Linked DNA regions of Homo sapiens: all the other regions are linked to region 4. The links are contacts of gene promoters, found by promoter capture Hi-C in human tissues and cell types (Jung and others, 2019). All regions are on one chromosome and are shown on one strand. The core of a region is centred on a gene start or on the middle of the fragment in contact, and the rest is flanking DNA. Distances in the headings are between cores, read along the strand shown. Region 1 overlaps EXTL3 (exostosin like glycosyltransferase 3). Region 2 overlaps KIF13B (kinesin family member 13B). Region 3 has its middle 61 kb from the start of EXTL3. Region 4 holds the start of DCTN6 (dynactin subunit 6).

Region 1 (2,968 bases), core at 104-2,603, 1.4 Mb before region 4:
TAGTGGAAAATATCACAGTATCTTGTTTGAAATGTGTATTTCTTTGATCGCTAGGAAGGTTAAACATATAAACATGTTTATCACTTGAACCCTTTTTTTGTGTAACTTCTTATTTATGTCCGTTGACCACTGTTGATTGCTTTCTTTTAATTCTGTCATATTGAGCAGGCTTCCCCATTTTTAATCAAATTTAAGCTTTTTTTTTTTCCTTCTGAATACATAGAATCATTTGATTCTTATATAGTCAAACCTGTTGAACATTTCTGGATTTTACTTTTGCTTGGATTCCTGGAAAAGTGGCTGTACTTGAGATGAGATTACATGTATATTTTCCTTTTCTTGTTACGGTTCATTTATTATAATTAACTCTTGAATCCACCTGGAACTTATTTTTGGATTTGGTTTGTCATGCAGTAATCTGACTTTATTTTTTTTCCCAAATAGATGTGTCACATTATTTATTGAAAAATGTAATGAGGTGTTCTTTAAAAAGATTGCAACAAGGTAATATTTTTAATTACAAAAGTAATACATAATGATTGTAAAATGAATTAAGACAAAATGAATCCTCTAAGTAAACAAATGGTAGATAAGCAAGAAGCAGTATACAGGGCTGTAGGTCATACGGACCTGGATTTGTAACTTGGTTGCTGTATTGCCTTGAACAAGTTTCCTATCCTTGGTGATACACCACTGCTTCATCGGTGAAGTGGAAATGACAGTACTCCCATGTGGCTGATGAAATGTATGTGTGAAGTGTGTTATCTAGAGTACTGTGCCTAGCACACTGTAAATATAAATCAGTAGCAATTATGAAAAAGCCCTCTCCTCCCCATCTTCCAAGGGTATGTGGTGCATTGAAGTGCGGACTTTCTGCGTTAGCTAAGGGATAGTGCTGTTTGTCTTCCTTAGCTGTCTATGTTGATTGAGCTGCCATCAATCTGAATCTCCATTACTATCAATTCTTCATTAGACCAATAGTTTTGGAGTTAGGGTTGTGTGCTCTGCATTAAAATCACCTGGGAACTTTGTCAAACTGCAGGAGTTTTCCCCCACACCTAGGAATTCTGATTTAGTTAATGTAGCACGGTCCCGGTTTGTTATTTGAAAAAATTCTTAAGTGGTGAATCTGATTTTTACACATAATTAAACTGACTGGTAAAACAATACGATTTGGATTTGTGGGACATTAGCGAACTGGTGGGAAGGGAAGCAGATAAGGCAATGGCATAATTTTCAAATTGAGGACTTATCCTGGGAGTTGAGACTTCTGGGCCCAGGTTTGTTGCCAAGTAAACAGATAACTTGGAGTAATCAATAGCCTCATTTTCCTTGTTAATATCTATATATTCAGCAGCGGAAGGAATGCTCACCACTTATTGATGAGTTCCTTTTGTATTTTGTGATTTGTCTGCTAGTGGCATTTGTGGAACACCTTGGGATTTAGAAACCTACTCTTAAGCCCAAAGAATAAATTGTTTTCCCTTTCAAACAGCCCTGTAATAAGGGCGGCTCAAACTCTGGTTCTCTGGTTGCATCATAATCTTCACTCTTCAGTCAGTAGGTCAAGGCACAACCAGTTTTTCACACTTCGTTTTGCTTTTTAATTGCTGAGGATGTTCTGTTTCCCTTTTTTCATCCAGGCTAGGTTACACAGTAAGAAACCACTGTGGTCGTTGGATTGTGAAAAACATAGGGCCTTGGTCTCCTGTAACTTGGGAAGTGTCTACATGTAGTTCTTAGAGCTTACTCTTTATCTACAATTAGTTTCCCTGGGAAGTGCCTTTTTTTTTTTTTTTTTTTTAAACAGAAGACAAATCAGTGATAGTGTTGGGAAATGTGTTTTAGTGCTTATTAACATACTTCCTGACTTCACGAACTAGGTACTGTCTTGCCTTGACAGGCTGTTTGTCATGCCTGTAGTTAGGAAATCAGGAAATGATGTTTTTTTGGGTTGTTAGTACTTAAAAACAAAACAATCCTCTGAAATACTGCTTTCAGTGACCTCACTGAAATGGTTTCCTGTGGAGAACTCTCTTTACCTAATTGGAAGGGCTCCTGGTGATGGCAGCAATGACAGCAGCATGCAGACAGCTCTGTAGAACCCGCACCTGGGTTGTCATGGAGTTCTGCCACTTGATGGGCCTATTTTGACCTAAATGAAAAAGAGAAAATAGTACTACAAGCACAGATATACAGGTGGGCCATAGGCACAGTGGCAAACATCTTTTGTTCTGAGTCTGCTATTCTCTTTAGCAGGTAAATACTTTGAATATAGTGTTGGTTTTGGGTTTTAGAGGAATATTATGTGTGTCAATTGTAATTATTATTCATGGTTACAGCGGAGTAGCAGTGATATGGAGAATGTAAAAATGATACACATGATAGGCATGTGTGTGTGTGCCTGCTCGCACTCTTACTTGAATTAATATAGACAGTGTAACATAATAAAGGCATTAAAGGTATGAGCTTTACAGCCAGCTTGCTTTGGTTTGAATTCAAGTTTTACCACATAACATGGGTGACCCATGGCTCATTAGCCTCTGTGCTTTGGTTTCCTCGTGTACAGAACAGGAATAACAGTAAACCCACTTCACGGGATTGCTGTGAGGATTAAGTGAGTGTGTTGAGGAATATATGGTAATAGGTTTAACCCGGCATACAGTAAGCATTCAATACCTGTTAGCTATTATCATAATTATTTAAGATATTAGAGGCCGTTGAAGGTTTCATTGGGAACATCTGGAAAGCGTCTAGCCTCTCTCTCTGTTTCTCACTCTGTTCTCCCTTCATACCTTCCACGTGGAAGGCATAACAGCCAGATGGAGCAGTGACTCCCTTCTTCCCTGTCGCGCCTCCTGTCTCTCCTGTCTCTCCGGGTGAGTGTTTTAGTGTAGTTTAACTTTTTTTCTTTCTTTTGGAGTAGTCTGATAATTTTCTGCATATAAAAAAATTTACAGTTTTATTA
Region 2 (3,145 bases), core at 515-3,014, 1.0 Mb before region 4:
GCCTATTATTGTCATAAACATGAGACTATGACACACCAATCAGTCCGTCTGCAACCAGGAGACATGGACACACGTCAAACTGGCTCTAGCCTTAGGGGGACAGAATTGCCTCACGATGCACTTGGTTGGAATCTACATGTTATGTAGGCACTAAATTTTCAGAGGTAAGCCTTCAGAAAACACCTCCTAACTTACCATTTAAGTCCAGGAATATAACAGGAATGTGTGTCTCCATCCCAGGTACTGGGGTCCTAAAACGGGAAGAACAAATGGCATCTGCCTCAGGTTACTTTCTCAGTGGCATGCACGTAGGAACACAGCCTTAATGGCATTCAGGGCTGTTACAGGGCAAAGCAGTAATAACCCTGGCCCTGATTTTACTCTAATCCAGAATCAGAGAGGCCACAAAGCCTCCACTGTAGCTGCTGCTTCATACCCTGACATTTGAACTTAGCCTTATAAGACACTACCTGTTTGTAGTGAAGTTCTCTTGTTTAAACCTACTTTCTTATAAAATGATATACTTAAGGGCTTCCTCTGGCTAAATTTACTATTTTTAATTTCTATAACGTAGCACAGAACATTTGCTGACAGTACAGTTTAAGCCAGCACCAAAACCAAAATCGCGTGGAGATGCAATTTTCTTATGACCGAACAGTCTTCTAAGGGAATGACCCAAGTAATTAACATATTAACTATTTTCTTAATGCTAAGTGCAGTGGTATTAAATATTGATTTAAGTTCTCAGAAATCTTAATGACTTTGGCCAATAACAACATTATTTAATAAAACAGTTTTAGGCCATAGTTATTCAACTCATGAAAATAATTTAACAGTTCCTTTAATTTAAACAACATTTCCCCCCATGCTATTGACTCTTCCATTAACCGTAGCACACGCAAAATTCAAGCTAAAAGCAAGTGGCTTGGTGAGCGTTCAGACCTCACAAGACGCACCACAGGGTTCATACCATTCTGCTGGGGCCCCTGGAATACCACTGCCAGCAGAGGGGACCATCACCGCGTTCCTCTCCTCAGTTAGGGTCAACCGCATCTCCAGAAGCTGCGCTTCACGGTCAGCATCATCCTCTGTTTTATCTAGAACATCGAGAATGAGGATTCAATGACAAAACTTCACTTGCCATTTATCTTTTTGTCCTGAGTAAAGACTGGATTTGCCTATATTTCAATTATTAGCTCACAAGTGCTCCCCAGTGATAAAAACTAACCCACAGCTAGAGAGGTCAGATGGGCTCCTGCAGAGAGGCCATCTTCAGTTCCTGGGAGGCCTACAGAGGGACCGCACAGGAGTGACTGGTCCAGAGTCAGAGGACTCGAGCCCTTTGGATAAGAAAAGTTACCACCTTCCTTTATGTTATCTTTGACAAACCATGTATGCTTTGTGCACTGTATTTGCTCTTTCTTTGTAGGGGGTGGGAGGAAGACCTCCACCAAGATACGACAGCTGGATAAAGGATATGACATAAACAAAGAGTAACACTCATCTGCTCCTGCCATCCCCATTACTGATGTGTTCATCTGGTTCTTAACTGATGTGGCTACAAAGGGAGAATAATTAATTATGCATTGATTTGCAGGGGAGAAAAATATTCTATTTGTTTTTCCTACCACGTTTACTGACAAGCTTTTGCAATTGTTGATCCAAGTACTCCTGACGTTTTGTTAATGCATTTAGCCATTTTCTACGAAGTCTCTCTAAATCTCGATCCTGGAAGCAAGCAAGGAAAATCATATTCAATGTAATGTCAAGATAATCTATCTGAAACTGATGCTCTATCTTACCTTGCTCTACTATGCCTTGGAAAGGTAAGGTAGTATACAATAATTTCTTTATTGCTACCACCAGTTGACTGCGCCCATCTTTCAAAACAGCTATTTTCAGAATTTAAAGCATTATTTTCTAGAACAGAAAGGGCATTCTCAGGTATCCAGAACCAGTTTTATTTCTAATGGCTTGGGGGTAGAGCTTTAAGCACCTGCAACAAAAATCTTCTAAAAGGTCTCTTTGCTGGATAAAACCGATAAACAGGACTCAATAATCTTCCAATATGGCTGGGCGTGGTGGCTCACACTTGTAATCCCAGCACTTTGGGAGGCTGAGGCAGGTGAATCACTTGAGGACGGGAGTTTGAGGCCAGCCTGGCTAACACAGCGAAACCCTGTCTCTACTCAAAATATAAAAAATTGGCCAGGCGCAGTGGCTCACATCTGTAATGCCAGCACTTTGGGAGGTCAAGGCAGGCAGATAACCTGAGGTCAGGAGTTTGAGACCAGCCTCCCCAACATGGTGAAACCCCATCCCTACTAAAAATACAAAAATTAGCCAGGCGTGGTGGCGGGTACCTGTAATCCCAGCTACTTGGGAGCTGAGGCAGGAGAATCGCTTGAACCCGGGAGGCAGAGGTTGCAATGAGCCGAGACTGTGCCATGGCACTCCAGCCTGGGCAACAAGAACAAAACTCCATCCCAAAAAAAAAAAAAAAAATTAGCTGGGCATGGTGGTGTTCACCTTTCATGCCAACTACTTGGGAGGCTGAGGCAAGAGAATTACTTAAACCTGAGAGGCAGAGGTTGCAATGAGCCAAGATCACTCCACTGCACTATGGTCTGGGTGGTAGAGCAAGACTCTGTCTCCAAAAAACAAAACAAACAAAAAACCACTTTCAATTTATGTACCTTAGAATAATCAGAAGAATCAACTTTTGTAACTTCTGCTTTCTATATGTCAAAACAGGCTCTTGAAGACAACATGTAAATGCTTCTCTCACTTGTTTTTATGCATTTTGTGGGGCAACAGGTAGGGGAAAGAGGGGATAGGGGTTGTCATCAACAGAATAACAACCTACCAGTCAACACCTACATGAATATCAATCTTACCTCATTTCCTTTTCTAATAAGGTTACAAGACTGGGTAGGTCAGTGGAATGCTGCAGATATAGTGTGTCTGGGCTTTACTAGGGCACTTAACCAAATAGCCTATGACATTGTTGTGGACAAGATGGAGAAACGTGCGATGCATCTACTTAAGTGAAATCACAGAGGACTCAAATATCACATCCGAAGAATAGTGATTAATGTCAGCTTGAAAAAAGTCTCTATTGTTGTGCCATAGGACTCTGTATTTA
Region 3 (3,195 bases), core at 135-2,634, 1.4 Mb before region 4:
ACTAACCTTGTATTTTGCAGTCTTGTGAGCTTATTCCAGTAGTTTTCTAGATTTCTTAGAACTTTCTATGTAAAAAGTCTCATCTGAAAACAGTTTTACTTCTTTCCTACCTTTATGCTTTATCTGTTTGTATGCCTGCCTGCCTTTTCCTCTTCAATTTTGCCTTATTGCAATGACTGGGACTCCGAGAACACTATAGAACAGTAGTATGGATCGGCACCTTGCTTTGCTCTCAATATTTGGGGAAAAGCTCTAGTATTTCACTGAGCTGTTAAGTTTTTCATACATAACCTTTATCAGGTTGAGTATGTTCCCTTTTATTCCTGTCTGCTGAGTGCTGTTAGAGAATTTCATCAAATGCTTTTTTCCTGTATCTATCGAAATGATCCTCTATTCTATTATAAATTAGATTGGCTTTCAAATATTTAATTATCCTTGCATTCCAGGGATAAACCCTACTTGGTCATGTCATATTATCCTATTTGTGTATTGCTGGATTCAGGTTGCTGGTAAGTTTTTTTTTTTTTTTTTTTTGCATTGATGTTCATGAGAGATATTTACCTCTCATTTTCTTTTTTGGTAATGACTTTATAAGGTTTTGGTATTAGAGTTATGCTGGCCCCTTAAAAGGGACTGGAATATTCCCCCTTCCTCTTTTTGATAGAGGTTATACAAGATTGGTGTTATTTCTTCCTTAAATGTTTGATAGTTTCCCAGGGAAACCATCTAGGCCTGGAGTTTTCCTTGTGAGAAGATAATAAATTTAATTTCTTAAGTGAATATCAAGTTCTTTTTCTTATTGAATGAGCTTTGTCTATTTGTGTCTTCAAAGGAAATTTTCCATTTTATCTGTGGTGGTAAATCTGTTGGCATAAGTTGGTGTTCTTTTTATCCCTTTAATATTTGTAGGCTCTTTAGTAATACCCCCCTTTCCTTTCTGATTGGCTGTCTTCTTCATATCCGTAGGATCTGTAGTGATAACCAAAGTTTTTTCACTGCCCATATGGGCAGTCGGTCCTGTCTTTCCTTGATCAGTCTAATGAGGTGTGTATCAGTTCTGCTGATGTTTTAAAAAATCAGCTTTTGGCTTTGTTAGTTTTCTCTGTTCTGTTTTGCTCATGTTTTGCTTATTTTTATGATTTCTTTCCTCTACTTTCTTTGGGTTTATTTGGCTCTTTTTATAGTCTTCTAAGGTAAAAATTTAGATCAAGTTTAGGTCTTTCATTTTTTCTGTAAGCATTTAAAGGTATAAGATGACTTTTAAGCACTACTTTAGCAGTATCCTGTACATGTTGAGCTTTAATTTTCTGTTCAAAATACTTTCCAATTCATTTTGGGATGTCTTCTTTGATCCATGAGCTATTTTAGAAGTGTTTAATTTCTAAATATTTGTGGTTTTCCAAAATACTTCGTTGAGTTTGAATTTAATTCCATTGTGGTGGGAGAAGGTTTTGTGTATGCGTTCGGTCCTTTCAGATGTAATGAGATTTATCACCTAGCATATGGTTTTCATAGTAAACATTCTGCTGCTGCAGAGCAAGTATTCTAAAAAGTATCAATTAAGTCAAAGTTTTTGACAGTTTTGTTCAGGTCATCTATGACTTTTTTTTTGTCTAGTTGTTTTAATAATTATTACAAGGGTGATAAAATCTCTAATGGAATTGTTTTTTTGTGGTAGGTTGTTCTATCTACCTACTTACGTAACTACATACGTCTGGAGTTTATAGTTTTACCTCTAGGAGGGTCAGGTCTGATGGGAGCTGTTACATTGCCATTCCATTATTTGACCTTTACTTGAATAAACTACAGAAATGTTCCCACACACAGCACTTGAGCAGGGATTGGCATACTTTTTCTGTAAAGGGTCAGCCAGTGTTTTAGGCTTTGTGGGCCACATGTGATTTCTGTTGCATCTTTTTTCTAACAACTCTGCTTGTGGGCCAGATTTGGCTTTTCGGCCACAGTTACCAACCTCTGATTCATCTCATCAGGAAGCTGCCCACTGAATCGAGTAGCTATTTTAAAGCATGGGCTAAATGATAGGGATTTTTACACTTATGTGCAGGTTCCCATGTTTAGAACATTGCAGTTAAAAAACTGACCCACCAGGAAATGTTGTTTTGGCCTGTAATTCCTAAATATTTCTGAAATTTTCTTTCCTTACCTTCTTCCACAAGCCTCATGCTGGGACAAGGTGGAAAAAACAGACCCTGCCCCCAGGGTGCTCATGGTCCTGGAAATGTGCTCCTCTCTAGCTGTAAGTCTGGGAGAAATGCTTATCTGTGACGGTGAGCTAAAGCCATGAGAGAGGGCACAACACACCGAATATGTGAGCAGCTGCCGACTAATGCCCACTGATGACTGGAAGGTGCTTACTGATGATTGGGAAAGGCTTTGTGAAATGAAAGTCCATTATTTCCAAAGTATGTGAAGCAAATGTAAATAGTTACTAGAGTAAAAACTTATATTGGATAATTTAAGGAAACGTTAGCAAACTTATTTTAATTGATAATGTGTTTGGTAACTCAGAATTTATTGTAGGAGAATTAAGTTACTTTTTACTGGTGATTGATTTGATAACTACATCAGGGAGGCTTACACATGGGTTAGGAATGTTTATTGTAGAAAAAGGTAAAGGGTAAATCCTTCTAACACAAACACCATTACACGGGGGCTTTGCACATTTTTTTCAATGGCCTGCAATGCCAACAGAAGAGAAGCAAGAAATATTCTACATGCCTGAGGAGATGGGCGTTTACACCCCTTTCAAAGATCTGTGGTCCTGTGTCTCAAAAGTTTACATTTAACGTGTGCATGTGTGTGTGTGTGTGCACATGTATATATATAGATAGATAGATAGATGGTTTTTTTTTTTGTTTTTTTTTTTGAGACAGAGTCTGGCTCTGTCTCCCAGGCTGGAGTGCAGTGGTGCGATCTTGGCTCACTGCAACCTCCATCCCCCCGCCCCCTCCCCGGGTTTAAGCATTTCTCTGCCTCAGCCTCCTGAGTAGCTGGGATTACAGGCATCTGCCACCACGCCTGGCTAATTTTTGTATTTTTAATAGAGATGGGGTTTCACCATCTTGGCCAGGCTGGTCTTGAACTTCTGACCTTGTGATTCACCCACCTTGGCCTCCCAAAGTGCTGGGATTAGAGGTGTGAGCCACTGTACCTGGCCATAATGTATATAATGCT
Region 4 (3,021 bases), core at 509-3,008:
AGATGGGCTTCCCTGAAGAAATTCCTCCTGTGAACAACAGCCTCACCCCTTGCATGAGAGTTCCAGCTTAGTGTACAGATTTTGGACTTGCTTAGCTGGGGCTCCACAATCATGTAAGCCAATTCCTTACAATAAGCCTTTTGATATCCATCTACTACTAGTTCTGTTTCTCTGGTTGGAAACTGAGTATGTGACATCCGAGACATAAAGGGTCAGAAGGTGTTAGGGTGGGGGCAAGTGGAAGCGGTTGGGGGTGGAGAGTCAGCTTTGCTTTTTTGGAGAATGAGGGTGTGATCGAACACATAGAAAGAGAAAGAGAGAAGTAGGCAGGGGCTGGATGTAGCTCAGAGATAGGTTATGGAAAGCAGTTTGGATTTTAGATTTTAAGAGGAAGGGGAAATAACTGAATTTGGCTCTTATTTTTAATTTTTTTCCATTAAAAAAATACATTATAGAAAAAATATATAGAGACGGGATCATGCTGTGTTGACCAGGCTGGTCTCCAACTCCTGGCCTCAAGCGATCCTCCCATCTCGGCCCCCCAAAGTGCTGGGATTACCGGTTTGAGCCACGCGCCTGGCCTCAATTTGTCTTTTAAAGGATGATTTTGACTACAAGAGAACTACTTGGATCAGGGTTGGGGGTGGGAGATGAGGAGGTGTGATTTCAGAGGCCAAGTACAGAATGAGTGAACAACTGGGAGAGACACATCGGCTGAGATTAGAGAGATGGTCCGGTAGACAAAAGTGTAAGCATGAGACCCGAGGTAGGACAAGCAGAACTTGCAGATCTATTACAGATGTAGGGGTGAGGAGTGCCAGGGTGACTCTTGAGTGTCTGGCTTGAGCAGCTAGGCAAATGGTGTGGATCAAAAAAGCAGCAGGTTGCAGGGAGGACGGCAGTGTTAATCGAAAGTCATGTTCTGTAAGTTTTAGGTTCGATACGACTCTGAGCGGAGATGTCAATTAGTCAACCGAATGTCAGGTGTGAAGATCGGCACAGAGGGCAGAACCAGAGACATTCATTAGAGAGCAAACAGGTAGAGGGCACTTAACCTATAGGAAGGATGCACTCATATAGAGCGAGAAAAGGGCCAGAAGGAGCCCTAATGAGTAGAGAAAGACAGGCTGAAAAGGACATCGGCGAGGTCAGAGAAATACCTTTAGGGTGTAATTACGCCTACGCGAGTGGGTAAAATGAGGGCATAATGACGCGGACTGGATTGCAATAAACAGCTTTTATTCTTTTATCAGAGACACGATCTAGCTTTTTAGCCCAGGCCGGAGTGCGGTGGCATCCTCACAGCTCGCTGCAGCTTCACTGGGCTCAGGCGATCCTCTCGAGTAGCTGGGGTACAGGCGCAGGCCACCGTGACAGGCTTTTTTTTTTTTTTTTTTTTTTTTTTTTTGAAGAGAGGGTCTCACTATGTTACCCAGGCTAGTCTCGCAGTCTGGCACTCCTGGCCTCAAGCGATCCTCCTGCCTCGGCCTCTCGGCCTCCCAAAGTGCTGGCCTGTGCCCAGTCAATGGCTGTTCCAAATTAGGGTCTACCCATCTCTATGCAGGGCTAAAGTCCGCGGGCGGCCCCGCACCGCTACCAAAAGTACAGTCCTGTGCGCCCAGACGCGACGCAAACAAGAGTCGCAAGCTTCCGGGTCCCCGCCCCACCCCGGCTCCGCCCCTCCCCCAACCCTGCCAGGCTCTCCAATCGCATGTGGAATTATCGCTCTACCCAGGCGGTGGTGTCGATCTACGTTCCAATTGGGGCCGTACCATGGCGGAGAAGACTCAAAAGAGGTGGGTTTGCTGCTTGAGAAAAGCCTTTTCTCAGCTTTCCGTAGGGGTGGAACCTGTTCCTGGTCGCCAATGGTGGCGACTCAGAAGGTGTCTCATCCTGGGCATTCGGGCCGAAGGTACCTGAAGCCCAGACCTGGCGTCCACTGAGGGAGGGGGCGACGGAGTGGGGGCGGGGAGGGTTGAGAAGGGACGCGGAGTCGCTGCCTGGAAGGTTTTTGTTCCTGTCTGGCCGTCCCTCCCCACATGCGCCTGCGCAGAGGGGGTCTCCCGGCCGGGAGGGCGGGGGGGGCTGTGAGGGGAGGGTGACGTCAGCTTTTTCCTGGGGAAGGCCGGCTCCCTTCTCCCGCATAATCGGCGGTGCTTGGCGCCGCTGTACCCCACGGCTTGGCGCTGGATTCTCTGCTGCATGTTGCGAGACCCCCACGCCAGTGCTGGCCGCACCCCAGGCCCTTCCTGTCTCTGGAGGGTGGGGTGTGTAAAGGGATTTACGGTCGCTGTCAAAAGGGGGGCCGCGCCTGGACTTGAACTGTGACACACACACACACACATTATATAGATGCAAGGAGTACTTGCGCAGATTTGTTGCATAGATAAATTGCGTAATGGTGAAGTTGGCTTCTAGTGTACTTACCACCCAAATAGTGAACATTGTATCAGATGGGTAATTTTTCAGCCCTCAAACCCCTCCTACCCTCGCTGCTTTTAGAGTCCCCAGTGTCTGTTATTTCCCTCTTTATGTTTATGTGTACTCATTTTAGCTCCCACTTAAAAGTGAGAACATGTGCATTTGATTTTATTTCTGAGTTATCGCGTAAGGTAATGGCCTCCAGTTCCATCCATGTTGTTGCAAAAGACATGTTTCCTTTCTTTTTGATGGCTCTGTAGTATTCCATCGTATAGATACACCACATTTCCTTTATCCAGTCATCCGTTGATGAACACTTAGGTTGATTCCATACTTTGCTATTGTGAATAGTACAGTGATAGTCATAGGAGTGCAGTTGTCTTTTTAATACAATGGTTTCCTTTGAGTAGATCCTGGGTCGAATGGTAGTTCCGTTTGGATTGGTAGCTCTATATGGATTGCTGGGTCCAATGGTACTTGTGTTTAGTCCTTTGAGAAATCACCATACTATTTTCAATAGATGAACTAATTTATATTCCCACCAATAGTGTATAAGCTTAGAACTGTGACATTTTTTGCCAGGCGTGGAGTGGACAAGCT

The links. Contacts are between HindIII fragments. The study calls those that stand out against the background at their distance.
Region 1: a contact is called between a fragment that was not itself captured here and the fragment with the promoter of DCTN6 in region 4, in 1 of the 25 tissues and cell types used here (dorsolateral prefrontal cortex).
Region 2: a contact is called between a fragment that was not itself captured here and the fragment with the promoter of DCTN6 in region 4, in 1 of the 25 tissues and cell types used here (dorsolateral prefrontal cortex).
Region 3: a contact is called between a fragment that was not itself captured here and the fragment with the promoter of DCTN6 in region 4, in 1 of the 25 tissues and cell types used here (dorsolateral prefrontal cortex).

What each region holds. Positions count from the first base shown.
Region 1 is chr8:28,706,643-28,709,610 of GRCh38, forward strand. The region is part of intron 1 of EXTL3 (exostosin like glycosyltransferase 3); the gene reads left to right. Among named protein-coding and RNA genes, the nearest start is that of EXTL3, 6.6 kb to the left of the region's middle. The HindIII fragment of the contact is 3,077 bases long and covers 1-2,892 here.
Region 2 is chr8:29,122,396-29,125,540 of GRCh38, forward strand. KIF13B (kinesin family member 13B) reads right to left here. Exons shown (of 40, transcript NM_015254.4): 27 at 1,629-1,728; 28 at 971-1,097; 29 at 196-251. Among named protein-coding and RNA genes, the nearest start is that of KIF13B, 140 kb to the right of the region's middle. The HindIII fragment of the contact is 4,670 bases long and covers 1-3,145 here.
Region 3 is chr8:28,761,379-28,764,573 of GRCh38, forward strand. No RefSeq gene overlaps it. Among named protein-coding and RNA genes, the nearest start is that of EXTL3, 61 kb to the left of the region's middle. The HindIII fragment of the contact is 6,871 bases long and covers 1-3,195 here.
Region 4 is chr8:30,154,611-30,157,631 of GRCh38, forward strand. DCTN6 (dynactin subunit 6) reads left to right here and starts at 1,759. Exons shown (of 7, transcript NM_006571.4): 1 at 1,759-1,796. The coding sequence starts at 1,774. DCTN6-DT (DCTN6 divergent transcript) reads right to left here and starts at 2,050. Exons shown (of 1, transcript NR_186490.1): 1 at 1,219-2,050. LOC124901927 (a long non-coding RNA gene) reads right to left here. Exons shown (of 2, transcript XR_007060880.1): 2 at 2,562-3,021. RefSeq lists enhancers at 850-1,059, 884-1,866, 1,810-1,959 and a silencer at 2,020-2,129. The HindIII fragment of the contact is 3,226 bases long and covers 337-3,021 here.